5 separate regions of the Homo sapiens genome follow, and regions 1, 3, 4 and 5 are each linked to region 2. Evidence: promoter capture Hi-C in 16 types of primary human blood cells and fetal thymus (Javierre and others, 2016). All regions are on one chromosome and are shown on one strand. The core of a region is centred on a gene start or on the middle of the fragment in contact, and the rest is flanking DNA. Distances in the headings are between cores, read along the strand shown.

Region 1 (2,700 bases), core at 74-2,573, 290 kb before region 2:
GTGACCTACAGAAGACGCAAAACTTCCTTCATCGAACTTGACTCCCACAAGGTGATGAAAATAAACCATGTATTAAAATACAACCCATCTAGAGGCTGTGTGTCAAGCTGACCTTCATCCAATTTTAATTTGTTTTCTTACTCAGGAAACTTTATTTTTCAATGTATATTACAGTTATAAGATGGTTGAAATACTCAGATTACTTTATGCATTTTTATTGTTATTATTATTTTTTGAGACGGAGTCTTACTCTGTCACACAGGCTGGAGTGTAGTGGCACTTCCCACTCAGTGCAACCTCCGCCTCCCAGTTTCAAGCGATCTTCATGCCTCAGCCTCCCAAGTAGCTGGGACTACAGGCACACACCACCATGCTCAGCTAATTTTTTTGTATTTTTAGTAGAGATGGGGTTTCGCCATGTTGGCCAGGCTGGTCTCAAATTCCTGACTTCAGGTGATCTGCCTGCTTCGGCCTCCCAAAGTGCTGGGATTACACCCGTGAGCCACTGCACCCAGCCCAGATTACTTTAAATTAGATCAGCAGTTCTCAGCCACAGTGGAATGGTGGGGTGGGGTGAGAGCAAGTGGAGTGTAACTCCAGGCAGCCTGTCTGACTCATCTTTGCAGAAAGACGCCTGAAGAACATGTGTGGTGCATGTTGTAGTGCTGGGAAAATGGTTGATAACTCGCAGCGTAGAAGGTGACTTATCGTAGAAACTGAATTTGTACATTATTAACTTAACGACAGTCGAAGCATAATTATTATAGAAGCCTCAAATGAGTGATCAGCTTTTTCCTTTTTAATTTGAAAAATTCGAAATATGTTTGAAGAGAATTATATAATGAAACTTTAGATTGTCAGCCCCTACCTTCGGCAGATATCAGTTCTTGACAAACTATTTCATTTATTTCCCCTCCTTTTTCTCCCTACCCTGGATTATTTGGAAGCAATTCCTGACATCATTTCATCTATCAGAATTGCATTATGTAAAGAGGTACATTTTTATGAATATCCATTTATTATTTGGTCCCTCTACAAGTGGTGGAGAGAAAAATAAAATCAGGTTACCACCATCTTCCAAAACATGGAAATTAGCCATAGTTTTGGTCCTTAGTCATTTAGAATCTGATTGAGTTCGGGGCTTACTCTATCACTCATATTGCTAGTCAGTGTTATATGGATGCTGTCTTATTTAATTATAAGTCTAGCCATCTATAAGGTACAGAATTTCTGTTTAATAGGTGAGGAAACTGAGACTCAGACTGAAACTTAGCCAAGGTCATGTAGCTAATAGTGTGGAGCTGAAATTGAAATCCAAGTTTGACCCTAGCGTAGAAATGTTCTTTTTGGCAGACCTGACATTGATAAAGCTGAAAAGGATAGGCAGACATCATCTACCTTATACCTGCACTCAGATTCTCAGTTGTGAGTGAGTAGAATGTCCACTATATAAAGTTTCTGTGCAGTCTTGGATCACTTCTGTGCATTGATTCTCGAAGTGTGTTCTGTGGGCCACAGAGAGTCCATGGAGTCTAAGCCTTTTATAATAAGACATCATTTGCCATTTCCACTGTGCTGACATTTGCATCAAGGGTACAATAGCAAAGTTGGGGTAAAACTGCTGAGACCTTAGCATAAATCAAGTGGTGCCTAACTGTACTAGTACTCACTATATTTTCCACAACCACACACACATTTGTGGTAAAATAAAAACCATCTTCACTGAAAAATGTCCTTGGCGAAATAGTAAAAATGATTAGTTGTTATAAATCTTGACCCTTGAGTACATCTTTTTGATATTTTCTGTTGTAAAACTAGAAGCTCACATAATGCACTTCTACTCCATACTGGGTTCCAATGATTGTCTTGAGGAAAAGCAGGTGTGTGATAGAGTTGTGAGCTGAACTAGCCACTTTTCTGATGGAATAGCATTTTTACACGAAAGAACATGAGACAGTCTTGGCAGAGAGGAAACTGCCAGTGTTGGTTGCCAATAAAAAAAATTTTCAAGTCAAAATTAAAATTTCGAAAAACTTATATTTGGCATCATGAGTTTGACAACTTCCTAATAATTTAGACTTTTGTTATAACATCAATGATGTTAGTAAATATGGATTTTAAAAACTATTATTTGATGAAATGTGTCAACATTTGGAAGATCTGCATAATTCAGTGAACCAATATCTCTCAAATGACTAAAGGGGCTTTTTCATTAACTGTATTAATGTTAACATGTAATGTGTTTATTATTAAATTTAAATGAATTAGTAAATATTTAATATTTTCTCAGTTTTAATATCTGTCAGTATAACTGACATATGAAAAAATTCTTTGGGGTTCTCATTAATATTTTTAAGAGTTGAAAGGGGCCCTGAGAAAAGTATAAGAACCAGCACTCTAATGCCCTTTCAGGATGAGATAGGTAGAGTGGATGTGAGCATGTCTGTATTACAGAGTTCAGTGTATATACTTTTAAATATCTACTATTTCTGAATTATACCTTCCTTCCATCAGTATAATCAATATTTAACTATATTTGTATTATTCATGCTTCCATTTAATAAATATTTATTGAGAACATAGTTATCAGAGGTTGAAAGAGAAGGGGTATACAGAATATATAAATCATGTTTATTCTCTGTAAGAGCTCATGGTCTCTATTCTAAAAAGTCATAAAAAAACAATGTTACTGTACTAAAT
Region 2 (2,700 bases), core at 57-2,556:
TTGCGAAACACAATCGCTTTTTTTTTTTTTTTAAAGCGACAGGGTGTCTAGACGGCCACGTGACGAGGCCGGAGCCGGGCGCGCCACTGCGCAGTGGAACCAGCCGAGCAGAGGGCCGGAGGGGGGGTGCGGGGGGGCGGGGAGGAGGCGGCGCGGCTGCGGCGGCTGGGGGCGGGGGAGGGAAGGGGGAGGAAGGGGGAGGGAAGGGGGCGGGGGCGGGAGGCCTTGCGGGAGGCGGTGAGCCCCGGGCACACTCGCTTGCTGCTCGGCGCACGGAAGATCCTGTCCCCGAGCCGCGCCAGCCGAGCCAGCCGGGCGCCGTGCTCGGTCCGCTCGCCGCGCGGGAGAGAGCTGCCCGAGACAGAGCCAGTCCGTCGGCGCCGAGCCGCCGAGCGCCCGGCCCCTGAGCCCCTGAGTGCGGCGCGGCGAGCCCCTGGCGGCGGCAGAAGGACCGGAGCGCCAGGAGAGGGCGGACCGGGGACAAGGAGGCTCCCGGGCGCGACGAGGAGAGTCTCGGAGGAGGAGGCGCCGAGAGGACACCGGGGCCTCCTGCCGCCGCAGCTGGGTCGAGGCGAGCAGCCCATGCGGGGAGCCTCGGCGGCCAGCCGCGGCCAGGGGAAGGGACATCGGCGGCCCCTGCACTAGCAAGCAGCTTGTGCCCGGGGGGGGCGAGAACGCGCGACCCGTCTGGGGCCCTCCGCCGCCGCCGCGCCACCCTCCCCCGCGCTGTCAGCCCCGCCGGGCTCAGCCGCCGCCGCAGCATCTTCTGCCCCTGCGCCCGCGCCAGCCTCGAGGAAGTCCCCGCCGAGGACCTGGGCCCCCAGGAGCGCAGGGGGAAAGACCAGAGACTCCCCTAAACCACCCAGATGCGCAGGATTGAAGCGGTCTAGCCAAAGCTTTCTGTGGATTAAAAAAATACACGATTTTTTTTTTTTTTTTTGGCAGAAGAAAAGGAGAGGAAGACCAGCGGGGCTTTGCAAGGAAACGGGGGGATGTAACTCGTGGATACATTTTTCCACCCATCAAACATCTTGTTATACTTTGTAAACATTTTCTTTTTTTAAACCCCAGTTCCAGCCGGACGCCCCCAGACCTCTGAGGTTCGAGGAGGTGGTGGTTTTCATTTGGGGCTTTGCATATTTGGTTGTTAGGTTTTGCGAGAGCCTTCTTATTTTGCCAGACGTCTCATGCGGGGTGAAGTCCACTCGGCCCCCTCCCCTGAGTCTTCGTGTGCGCGGAATTCGAGGAGATCCGGTTACTAAGGATATAGAGGAAAAAAATAAATCGCTTGCTTTTTTTTTTTTAATTGCCTGCTTCTCCCCACCCCCAAATTAAGTTGCTTAGCAAGGGGGAAAGAGGCTTTTTCCTTCTTCCAACAGCCCAGCCGAACGCCTTTCGTTTTTTGCCCCCGCGGACCTTCCATGTAGGAAGCCGAGGCTGGCGAGCCCGACATTCGGGAGCCACTGCGGGGGGGCCTCTTTTTGGGGAGGCGCCGACGGGGGCAGGCTCGGCCGTCCCCAGGGAAGCGGCGGCCGGGTTCCTCCGGGGCGCGCCGGGGCCGGAGAGCCGCGCAGGGCGCGGGCCGCGCGGGGTGGGGCAGCCGGAGCGCAGGCCCCCGATCCCCGGCGGGCGCCCCCGGGCCCCCGCGCGCGCCCCGGCCTCCGGGAGACTGGCGCATGCCACGGAGCGCCCCTCGGGCCGCCGCCGCTCCTGCCCGGGCCCCTGCTGCTGCTGCTGTCGCCTGCGCCTGCTGCCCCAACTCGGCGCCCGACTTCTTCATGGTGTGCGGAGGTCATGTTCGCTCCTTAGCAGGCAAACGACTTTTCTCCTCGCCTCCTCGCCCCGCATGTTCAGGACCAAACGATCTGCGCTCGTCCGGCGTCTCTGGAGGAGCCGTGCGCCCGGCGGCGAGGACGAGGAGGAGGGCGCAGGGGGAGGTGGAGGAGGAGGCGAGCTGCGGGGAGAAGGGGCGACGGACAGCCGAGCGCATGGGGCCGGTGGCGGCGGCCCGGGCAGGGCTGGATGCTGCCTGGGCAAGGCGGTGCGAGGTGCCAAAGGTCACCACCATCCCCACCCGCCAGCCGCGGGCGCCGGCGCGGCCGGGGGCGCCGAGGCGGATCTGAAGGCGCTCACGCACTCGGTGCTCAAGAAACTGAAGGAGCGGCAGCTGGAGCTGCTGCTCCAGGCCGTGGAGTCCCGCGGCGGGACGCGCACCGCGTGCCTCCTGCTGCCCGGCCGCCTGGACTGCAGGCTGGGCCCGGGGGCGCCCGCCGGCGCGCAGCCTGCGCAGCCGCCCTCGTCCTACTCGCTCCCCCTCCTGCTGTGCAAAGTGTTCAGGTGGCCGGATCTCAGGCATTCCTCGGAAGTCAAGAGGCTGTGTTGCTGTGAATCTTACGGGAAGATCAACCCCGAGCTGGTGTGCTGCAACCCCCATCACCTTAGCCGACTCTGCGAACTAGGTGAGAAGTTGTCCCCCTACCCCCAACATTTTCCGGAGCGCCAGTGCTGGAAGAAAAGCCCCTAGGGCAGTGCGTTTGTGCAGCCATCCCTCCAGGGGGAGTGTGCATACCCTCCTGGGAGAGTGTGCATACCCTCCTGGGAGAGTGTGCATACCCTCCTGGGAAGAGACTGGGGGCTGAAAGTAGAGAAGGGACAAGGGGAAACTCAAAGGGCATTCCCTGGGGGTTCCCTTCCAGGTTT
Region 3 (2,700 bases), core at 196-2,695, 260 kb before region 2:
GTAGTCCCAGCTATTCAGGAGGCTGAGACAGGAGAATTGCTTGAACCCGGTAGAATTGCTTGAACCCGGGAGGCGGAGGTTGCAGTGAGCCGAGATCATGCCATTGCACTCCAGTCTAGGCAACAGGGCAAAACTCCATCTCCAAAAAAAAAAAAAAAAAGTTAGAAAAAGTTCCTATGGAAATGTGTTATAATTTTATTATTAAAGTACTGAAAAATACATTATTAGAAAACTTCACCTTGGAATCTTTTTTAAGCATTACTCTTTTGCTTGTGGTTTTTGTCATCTTTTACAGACTTGAATGTTGTTCTAGGACAGAATATTGTTGTACTTTATTTTAGTGAAGCATAACCATATCAAATAACATTTCAGAACTATACATTGCACAATCTTGGACATTTTCTTGTAAGAAGGCACTAAGGAAATTTTATTTTTGTGAAAGTAATTCTTAAGTAACAGTGACTGTTTTTTATGGGCTAGCTCCAGACCACATTTGCCTCCTTCCCATGATCTTGTTTTTCTGATGTCCCAAGCTGTAAGTATAGAGGTCAGAATGACATTTTAGGGCTCTAGGTTTGAATCTCATAATCTTAAAATGGATATTATTCAGTTTATCAAAAAGATCAGTTCTATTTTTTTTTTCAGATTAAAAATAAATTAGGCCGGACATGGTGGCTTATTTCTGTAATCTCAACACTTTGGAAGGCCAGGGTGGATGGATCACTTGAGCCCAAGAATTTAAGACCAGACTGGGCAATATAGTGAGACCCTGCCTCTAGTAAAAATTTTAAAAATTAGCTGAGTGTGGTGGCACACACTTGTGGTTCCAGCTATTTGGGAGGCTGAGGTAAGAGGATCACTTGCCTAGGTAGTTTAGGCTGCAGTGAGCTATGATTGTGGCACTGTACTCCAGCCTGGGTGACAGAATGAGACTGTCTCAAAAAAAAAAAATTAGTTTTACCAAAAATAGTGCAAATAATTTTCATTTACCTTTAACTCACATTCCCAAATGTTAAAATTTTACCACATTTGCTTTACTATTGTGTTTGTCTCTTTTTTTTGAAATGGTTGAGAATAAGTTTACAGACATGATGTCCCATTGCTAAGTACTACATGGTGTATTTCTTAAAAATAAGGATATTTTTCAAAATCAGGAAATTAACATTGATAAAAACTATTTTAAGTAAAAAATGCCTTTTTTCTCCTCCAAGTCAGGAATCTAATACCAAAATCATGTTACATATAGTTGTCTTCTTTCATCTTTTTTAATCTGGAATGGTCCCTCAGTCTTTCTTTGTCTTTTATGGCCTTTAAAATTTGGAGAATACAGAACAGTTTTTTGTTTATTTGTAGAATGTCCCTCAATTTTGGTTTGCTTGATTTTTTGGGAATTAGATTTTGGCTATGCTGTGATCATATCAGGAGCCACATGACATCTACTTGTTCCATTACTGATGTTAATGTTAACTGTGATCCCTTGTTTAAAGTGCTGGTGATACACATTTTTCAAGAATATGTTTCTTGTATTTTAAGTTTTTGCTCTCTTTTGGTAGATGGAGTCCTAGAATCCTTTCCAAGACTCAATAGAAATATCTCTTTAAATATAAGCCTACTTTAAAAGATTTTTAACTACTCTGTTTTGGAGATTAACAGCTTCTTAAGACTTTCTCTATTTCAGAGGAATTTTGTTTTGTCTAATAATCTGTCTCCTGCTCTAGGTTGTAAGCTCCCTAAGGGTAGAGATTGTGTGTACATCATTCCCCACCCTGTCTTCAATGCCCAGCACTATTCCCACATGCAGTAGATAGTAGTTACTGCTTGACTGATTGGTTGTTTGATAGGCTGGTGGTTGAATGGATGAATGGATTGTTCGTTTGTGGAAATTTGCCCATTTCAAATCTTCTAACTTACTAGTTTTGAGTTCAACATACTTTAAAAATTACCTATCACCCTCTTGGTATTAATACTTTGATATAGTTTTGATGTAGTTCTTCAGACATGATTCTCAAGGACTAATAATAGCCAAGACATATCAGATATGTTCACTATTGTGTTGATTCACCTTGTCAGATTGATTTTACATTCTCTTCTCTCTAGCTTGCTATTTTTAAATGGCCTGAAATGTGGCGTCAGTGAAATTACTCTGACAATAATAGTAATAATTCTTATTGGTCCTCTTATTACTTTATTTTTTGTAATATCACTTTAAAATCTTGGAGCGGTTTAAAATTTTTTACTATGTTGTTCGCTTATGGGTTTGAGGCTTAGAGAGATCATACACCCACTATTATAAAGCTGCCAATGGGTGAGCAGGATTTAGATTTCTAAGTTTTGTCTTTCTTTAAAAAATTTTATTTTTGCAAGCACTTTTCCAAAGGATTTCTAAGTTTTCTGACTCCTAATTCAGTGTTCTCTCTACCATAATCTCTTCCATATTGTAGTAGTATTATTGCCTACTTGCCAGGAACATATTCCTAATACCGTGAAGAAAAAGTATTTTGTATCACTTTGTTCTACCAAGGCGTATTTTATGTGGTTCACTAATGACAGCCTCATATTTTGAGACTTTTCTCCCAGTGAGTATGCCTTTTCTCCCCTAAATAGACTTTTTAAAGAGCAGTTTTAGGTTCACAGCAAAAGTGATCAGAAAGTATAGAGTTGCCATATATCCCCTGGCCTCCAACCTCCCCCACTATCAAC
Region 4 (2,700 bases), core at 118-2,617, 260 kb after region 2:
TAGCCTGGGTGACAGAGTGAGACTCTGTCTCAAAAAGAAGAAAAGGATAAAATGGCAGGTAAATAGGATTGTCCTGGAATACCTGGGGCAGCAAGTGAGGGGCGGTGGAGGATAAGAATAGATGAGGGAGTGAAGAAACATTCCAGGGCTTCAGATCTGTCTCAGGCCAGGGGAGAGCTGGTGTCACCACTTGGGTCTGGGAGGGAGAGGGAAAGGGGAGACAGGAGTGAGCAAAGATGCTTGGACAATTTCTTTGAGGAGGACAGACTCACAAGAGAAGGAGTGGGGAGACAGGAAGACCAGACAAGGACTGGGGACATGAGCACCTGTTCCCAGCTAGAGAAAGGAAGAAGGAAAGACCTTTTAGGAGAGGACTGATTCTATCTGGTGCAGGTGGCAAAGAGTCACTGAGCATTGGGAGGCCTCGAATCTGGAACACTGGGCTGTGTGACTGACTGGAGGGAAATCTAGAATCTCAAGTGTATTCTAACAAACTATTTTGGTAACGACCCCTACAAAGTTATGTATGGGAAAATACAAAGCCCTTCAGCAAATATGTCTCCCAAAGGGAGGGAGAGAGGAAGAGTAAGCTATACACAGGCCCTGGAATTGTCTTCGGCACCAGAGGGCCACGAACACCCAGAGTGGCCCTTGGGCACAATCCCTTTGTTTCTAGACGTCTGGAAGTCAAGTGGATTCCCAGTTGAGTTGGAAATGCCGGGAGACTTTTCCCATACTACAGTGGACTGAAACAATGCCGGCAGAGTGGACGTTACAATTGTTTCCACTGAAGTTATTTTGGGGGAGTTTAGGAAGATTGTCTATTCCAAGACATTTCCTTCACCCGATTCCCTTTATAAAAATACCGAAGGAAGAAGCCTGTGTTGCAGCCACTCTGTCTGCCCTGCTCACAGGCACGTGCACCATGCTCGTGGTGAGTGGCTCCCAGTGGGCCCCAGGAGCTGCCGTGTGCAATACCTATTTACTGCTGCCCTCTCAGAAGCCCTTAGATTTGACTGGCACCTCACTGTTTTCAAAGAAGTTTCTCCATTATTGTCTTGCTTGATTCTCACTACAGCCTTCTGAGATGGTGGTTTGCAGGGAGGAGGTTTTATTATCTCCATCCTAGATAGGAGGAAATGGGGAAGTAAAGGTGCTTGGTCAAGTCCATGCAGCTTGGAAGAGGTGGAGCGGGGCAGGCTCCTGTGTTCCGGCTCTGGGAGGATGCCTTCTGGGTCCTGTGCGTGTTGCAGGGTGCGCCAGGGCTGCTGAGAGAGTGTTCCTTAAGTGTTTGTGGACTACTTTCCACAGCCAATCCCCGAGCCAGGTCATGATGGATCAGCCAGGAGAAGACAGACCTGGCCCTTCTGTACTCAGGGCTCCACAGCTAGTCCAGTGTGCTGTTACATGGGGTGCAAGATAGGGAAAATGTGGGATGCAGGGTTGGAAGGAAATGCAGGGGCTGGATTGGGATGACCGTGCATGAGAGGAGCTTGTCTTCCACGTGATGGAAGGCAAGGACAGGCTGGAGCAAATCAGGAAACTAGCTAGATGTGTGCACTTTGTAGGTCATGCTAGAGGTGACTGGATTTAGGGGATTTAAACCAAACCCAGGGCAGACTGGTAAGGGGCTGTCACAACAGCCAAGGGGCAAGGAGGACTAGCGGAGGAGTTAGGGAAGCCATAGTGGATGGAAGGAGAGTCTGTAAACGCCCAAATAAAATAAAATTTAGAATGAAATTGATGAGTTTTGGTGAAGGACGGGGTGGGGTGGAGATGGGGGAGAGAGTGTCACCTATAAGAAACACAATGGCAAAGAAGACATGAGCCCTGCTCTGAGGAATCCTACCTTCTTATAGGACAGGGAGAAAATAAGGCTGGGCATGATCAATTTCAAGATGACAGAAGCTACTGAACTAATGTTTTATAAGTTAGGATCAAGTCCTGGCTAACTGCTTATTTTTCTATGATGTAAGTATCTCACAGACTGGGGAAATGGGATAAGTCTTTAATACCTTAGGGCAGAGGGGCTCAGCCATGACTGCAAGCCAGATTCACTCGGGGAGCTTTACAAGTGCCTCATGCCCAGGACCCATTGCCCAGAGAGTTAACTGCGGCAGGGGAAGGTAGTGACCTTTTCTTCCCTGAAAGTCACCTTTGCACTTAGCCCCTCCTGGACAGCAGGAATCTCTCTCCTGTGTACAGTGACCTCTGACTCACAACAACCTTGAGAATTCAGCTCATCTGCGCTGGCCTGGGGCTTGAGTTTGGCTCAGTGCAGACTGAAAGGGGCTGTGTTATATGGACAACCATGAAGGCTCCTTTCAGGTGGGCCCTCCTATGACCTCGTGACTCCATCCTCCTGAAGAAATAGAATGGAGGAAACTTGCCTTCTTGGCTGTTAGACATTACCCTTCAGCGGAGGGTTCTCTGTAGCTGAAAGGTTCTCAACTCAAAGTTTGGCCTTCTAGAAAATGACTTAGTGACCCAAGCCTTCAATTCAAGCTGCAGCATGTGAAATCCACTTAAAATGAGAGCGGGCTGCTGCTTCTGCATGCTTTGAACAACCCCAGGAGGTGACTCGGCCACTCTGTCCTCATAGATTTGAGTTATTTTTATGACAATATCAGACAGAGGCTGTGCTGAGGAAGGGGCACCTCTTTCTAATTTGCAAAAAGTCGCCATGTGGCTAGTGGCCTC
Region 5 (2,700 bases), core at 82-2,581, 460 kb before region 2:
CTGTTTCTATATTTTTAGGCTCTTTGGCACACTTTATGTTCAATTTTATTAGAACTTTTCAAGTTGAAAAATCTGCTCTGTTGTAGAGGTGGGCCTGGGATCGCTGCTAAACCATCTTCTAAATTCTGTTTTAACTTTTTCTTTGTAGGTTTGCTTGGTTGGTGACCAAAATAATGTACTAGGCTGTTTTACTCAGGGAATAAATAATTTGAGACTTTTCTTGGCATCTTATTATATTTTTCAAATTGAGGGACCACAAGAAGTTCAGTTTTTACATCTTGAGTCAAAACCTTTATTTCCCATTCTTTCATTTATACCTTTCTATGCAAAAATCATTTTAGAAGATGCTTAAGTTTTCCCAGGATTAATCAGTCCCTTAAACTAAAAGCTTAAATGGGGGAAATATATCCTTTAAAGCATTAAAGTAAAGGGACATGTAAGTTTTACTGCAGGTGCACCCTTGATTCCTCTTCTTTCTCACTGTGTTGGTTGGAATTTTTTTTTTTTTTTTTTTAAGTCAATGTTTTTCTCTTTCTTGGGAAAATAAACACCGTATTATCTAGCATAGTAGTTGCTGACATTTTGACATTTTAATAGTTATATTTCCTTTCATTTTGGCAGTTGAATGACAGCATATACGATTGTCTGTGAATCACATGAATGTAAACACCTTTTTGGTTCTGCATGGGTGCGTTAAAAATTGCTATAATTTATATGCAGTTTTTGTCCTTTGACTTTTTCCTATTAATAGGTCCTCTTAAAACATTAACCTTCCCACAGTTTAACCACTGAATTGGCTGATTCTTGTTAGTTTTGTGAATGATTTCTGTAATTCTCTTTGCTAAGGTAAGGGGGAAAATGTCTTCAGAAGTGCTTCTGTCCTTTCCTGAATCGTTACTTGTTGATTTTTTCAGGTTATATCTTTGACTAACATTATATATTTATCAGAATTTGTATGTTGTTGGCTGAAATTGACATCATTAATATAAAATGTCAGTTTTGAAAGAATTTTATGGCGGAACTTTCAGCTGAAGGGACTAAGGATTTTCAGTGTTTATGTTATGAAACTTACAGTTTGATTGTTCAGCAAACCTGTGTTCAGAGGTCTGTTATAACTTCTCCCCCAACAATTTTTTTGCCTATCTGCTTTTCTTAAAAATATTTGAGCTATTAATTTCTCACTTTTCATTATTGAGATTCATATATGAGAACGGTGTGCCTAAAAGTAAAATAAAACCAGTCTAAATTACAGAAAACTGTGAAGTAGGGAATACTTAATTTAAAATTTTAGCTTCCCGACCACACTATAGTTTATGATTTCATAGCAGTTACAAGAAAGTCGTCTATCATCTTACCATTTTCCTTATTAGATTTAAAATTTTGTTTTCTTCCAATTCTTTATAATTCACATAATTTTTGCATGATTGGAATTATAATGTAGATATACTTTTTATAATAATTTATGTGTGACACAACTTCTTTTAGGAATATATAGAAATTCCAACTAGTTGCTGGAGTGTTTCTAGGTTGATATTATGTGGGTTTGCCTTAAGAGTATCTCATTTAATATTATTCATATTGAAAGAGTATTAATCTGGAAGTTAAATATGTTTATTCTTATACCGTGACATTGGACAAGTTACTCTGCTTCTCTATTTCTGTCACTTGTAAAGTGAGGATACTCCCATTTCCTCGGTCAACTTCTCAGGGTTTTTAAAAGAAATCAAATGAAATAATAAAGGTGAAAGAACTTTGAATAGTGTATATAGGCCTGTACAAAATGCAAGTTATTTCAGCAAATTTATTTGCATATGGACAATAATATGCTAACATCTTTAAACACATTTCTTTTGTAGAAGGTTAAATAATACTTTTTCTAAATCCCCTCTCCCTTGTCAAAATGATTTCTTTAAAGTATAACACAAAAGTCAGTTTCAACTCAATTTGTTTAATTTTAATTTTAATTTTAATTTTTTTGAGACAGGGTTTTGCTGTATTGGCCAGGCTGGAGGGCAGCTCATTGCAGCCTCCACCTCCAGGGCTCAAGGAGCAGCTGGGACTACAGGCACTCTACCATGCCCAGCTAATTTTTTTTTTTTTTTTGGTAGAGAAAAGGTCTCACTATGTTGTCCAGGCTTCAACTCAATTTTAGACAAACAGCCCCCAATCCTGAATTAGTAAATTTCAGATCAGTGAAGTCTGCTAAATGTATATAATAAGACTTTTTTTTTTTTTGAGGTTGTGGTGTTATTATACAACCAATTGGTAAGCTTTTCTTCTAAGAGTATATATTATTCAACTTCTTATTTTTTTTTAACCTTAATCCCTGAGGACCAACACCATGGCCTGGCAGTGTCCATTGGTACCTCTTATAATACTTAAAAATCCAGTGACTGGGTACTGTGGCTTATGCCTGTAATCCCAGTACTTTGGGGGTCAAGGCAGGAGGATTGTTTGAGGCCAGGAGTTCTAGACTAGCCTGGGCAACATAATGAGACTCCATTGCTACAAAAAAAAATTTGCTGGGCATGGTGGCACACACCTGTAGTCTTGGCTACTCGGGAGGCTGAGGTGGGAGGATTGCTTGAGCCCAGGAGTTCTAAGCGGCAGTGAGCTGGGATCATGACACTGTAATCCAGCCTTGGGAATGCATCGAGACCCTGTCTCTAAAACACACACACACAAAATCCAAAGTGTTCA

Evidence for each region. The method cuts DNA at HindIII sites, captures the fragments that hold promoters and counts their contacts. A CHiCAGO score of 5 or more calls a contact.
Region 1: a fragment that was not itself captured here is called in contact with the fragment with the promoter of SMAD7 in region 2 in 1 of 17 cell types (M1 macrophages); the score reaches 7.5 in M1 macrophages.
Region 3: a fragment that was not itself captured here is called in contact with the fragment with the promoter of SMAD7 in region 2 in 1 of 17 cell types (M1 macrophages); the score reaches 6.7 in M1 macrophages.
Region 4: a contact is called between a fragment that was not itself captured here and the fragment with the promoter of SMAD7 in region 2, in 4 of 17 cell types (M1 macrophages, endothelial precursors, M2 macrophages and 1 more). The highest score is 9.8, in M1 macrophages.
Region 5: a fragment that was not itself captured here is called in contact with the fragment with the promoter of SMAD7 in region 2 in 3 of 17 cell types (non-activated CD4 T cells, total CD4 T cells and activated CD4 T cells); the score reaches 6.1 in non-activated CD4 T cells.

What each region holds. Positions count from the first base shown.
Region 1 is chr18:49,239,947-49,242,646 of GRCh38, reverse strand. The region is part of intron 13 of DYM (dymeclin); the gene reads left to right. Among named protein-coding and RNA genes, the nearest start is that of MIR4744, 190 kb to the right of the region's middle. The HindIII fragment of the contact is 3,396 bases long and covers 1-2,700 here.
Region 2 is chr18:48,949,571-48,952,270 of GRCh38, reverse strand. It overlaps SMAD7 (SMAD family member 7), which reads left to right and starts at 1,306. Exons shown (of 4, transcript NM_005904.4): 1 at 1,306-2,459. The coding sequence starts at 1,847. RefSeq lists silencers at 133-832, 2,049-2,368. The HindIII fragment of the contact is 3,263 bases long and covers 899-2,700 here.
Region 3 is chr18:49,210,757-49,213,456 of GRCh38, reverse strand. All of the region lies in intron 13 of DYM (dymeclin), which reads left to right. Among named protein-coding and RNA genes, the nearest start is that of MIR4744, 160 kb to the right of the region's middle. The HindIII fragment of the contact is 4,430 bases long and covers 1-2,700 here.
Region 4 is chr18:48,689,231-48,691,930 of GRCh38, reverse strand. The region is part of intron 6 of CTIF (cap binding complex dependent translation initiation factor); the gene reads right to left. LOC105372107 (a long non-coding RNA gene) reads left to right here. Exons shown (of 4, transcript XR_007066460.1): 1 at 1-58. Among named protein-coding and RNA genes, the nearest start is that of MIR4743, 20 kb to the right of the region's middle. The HindIII fragment of the contact is 6,421 bases long and covers 1-2,700 here.
Region 5 is chr18:49,410,051-49,412,750 of GRCh38, reverse strand. All of the region lies in intron 2 of DYM (dymeclin), which reads left to right. Among named protein-coding and RNA genes, the nearest start is that of DYM, 49 kb to the left of the region's middle. The HindIII fragment of the contact is 1,882 bases long and covers 391-2,272 here.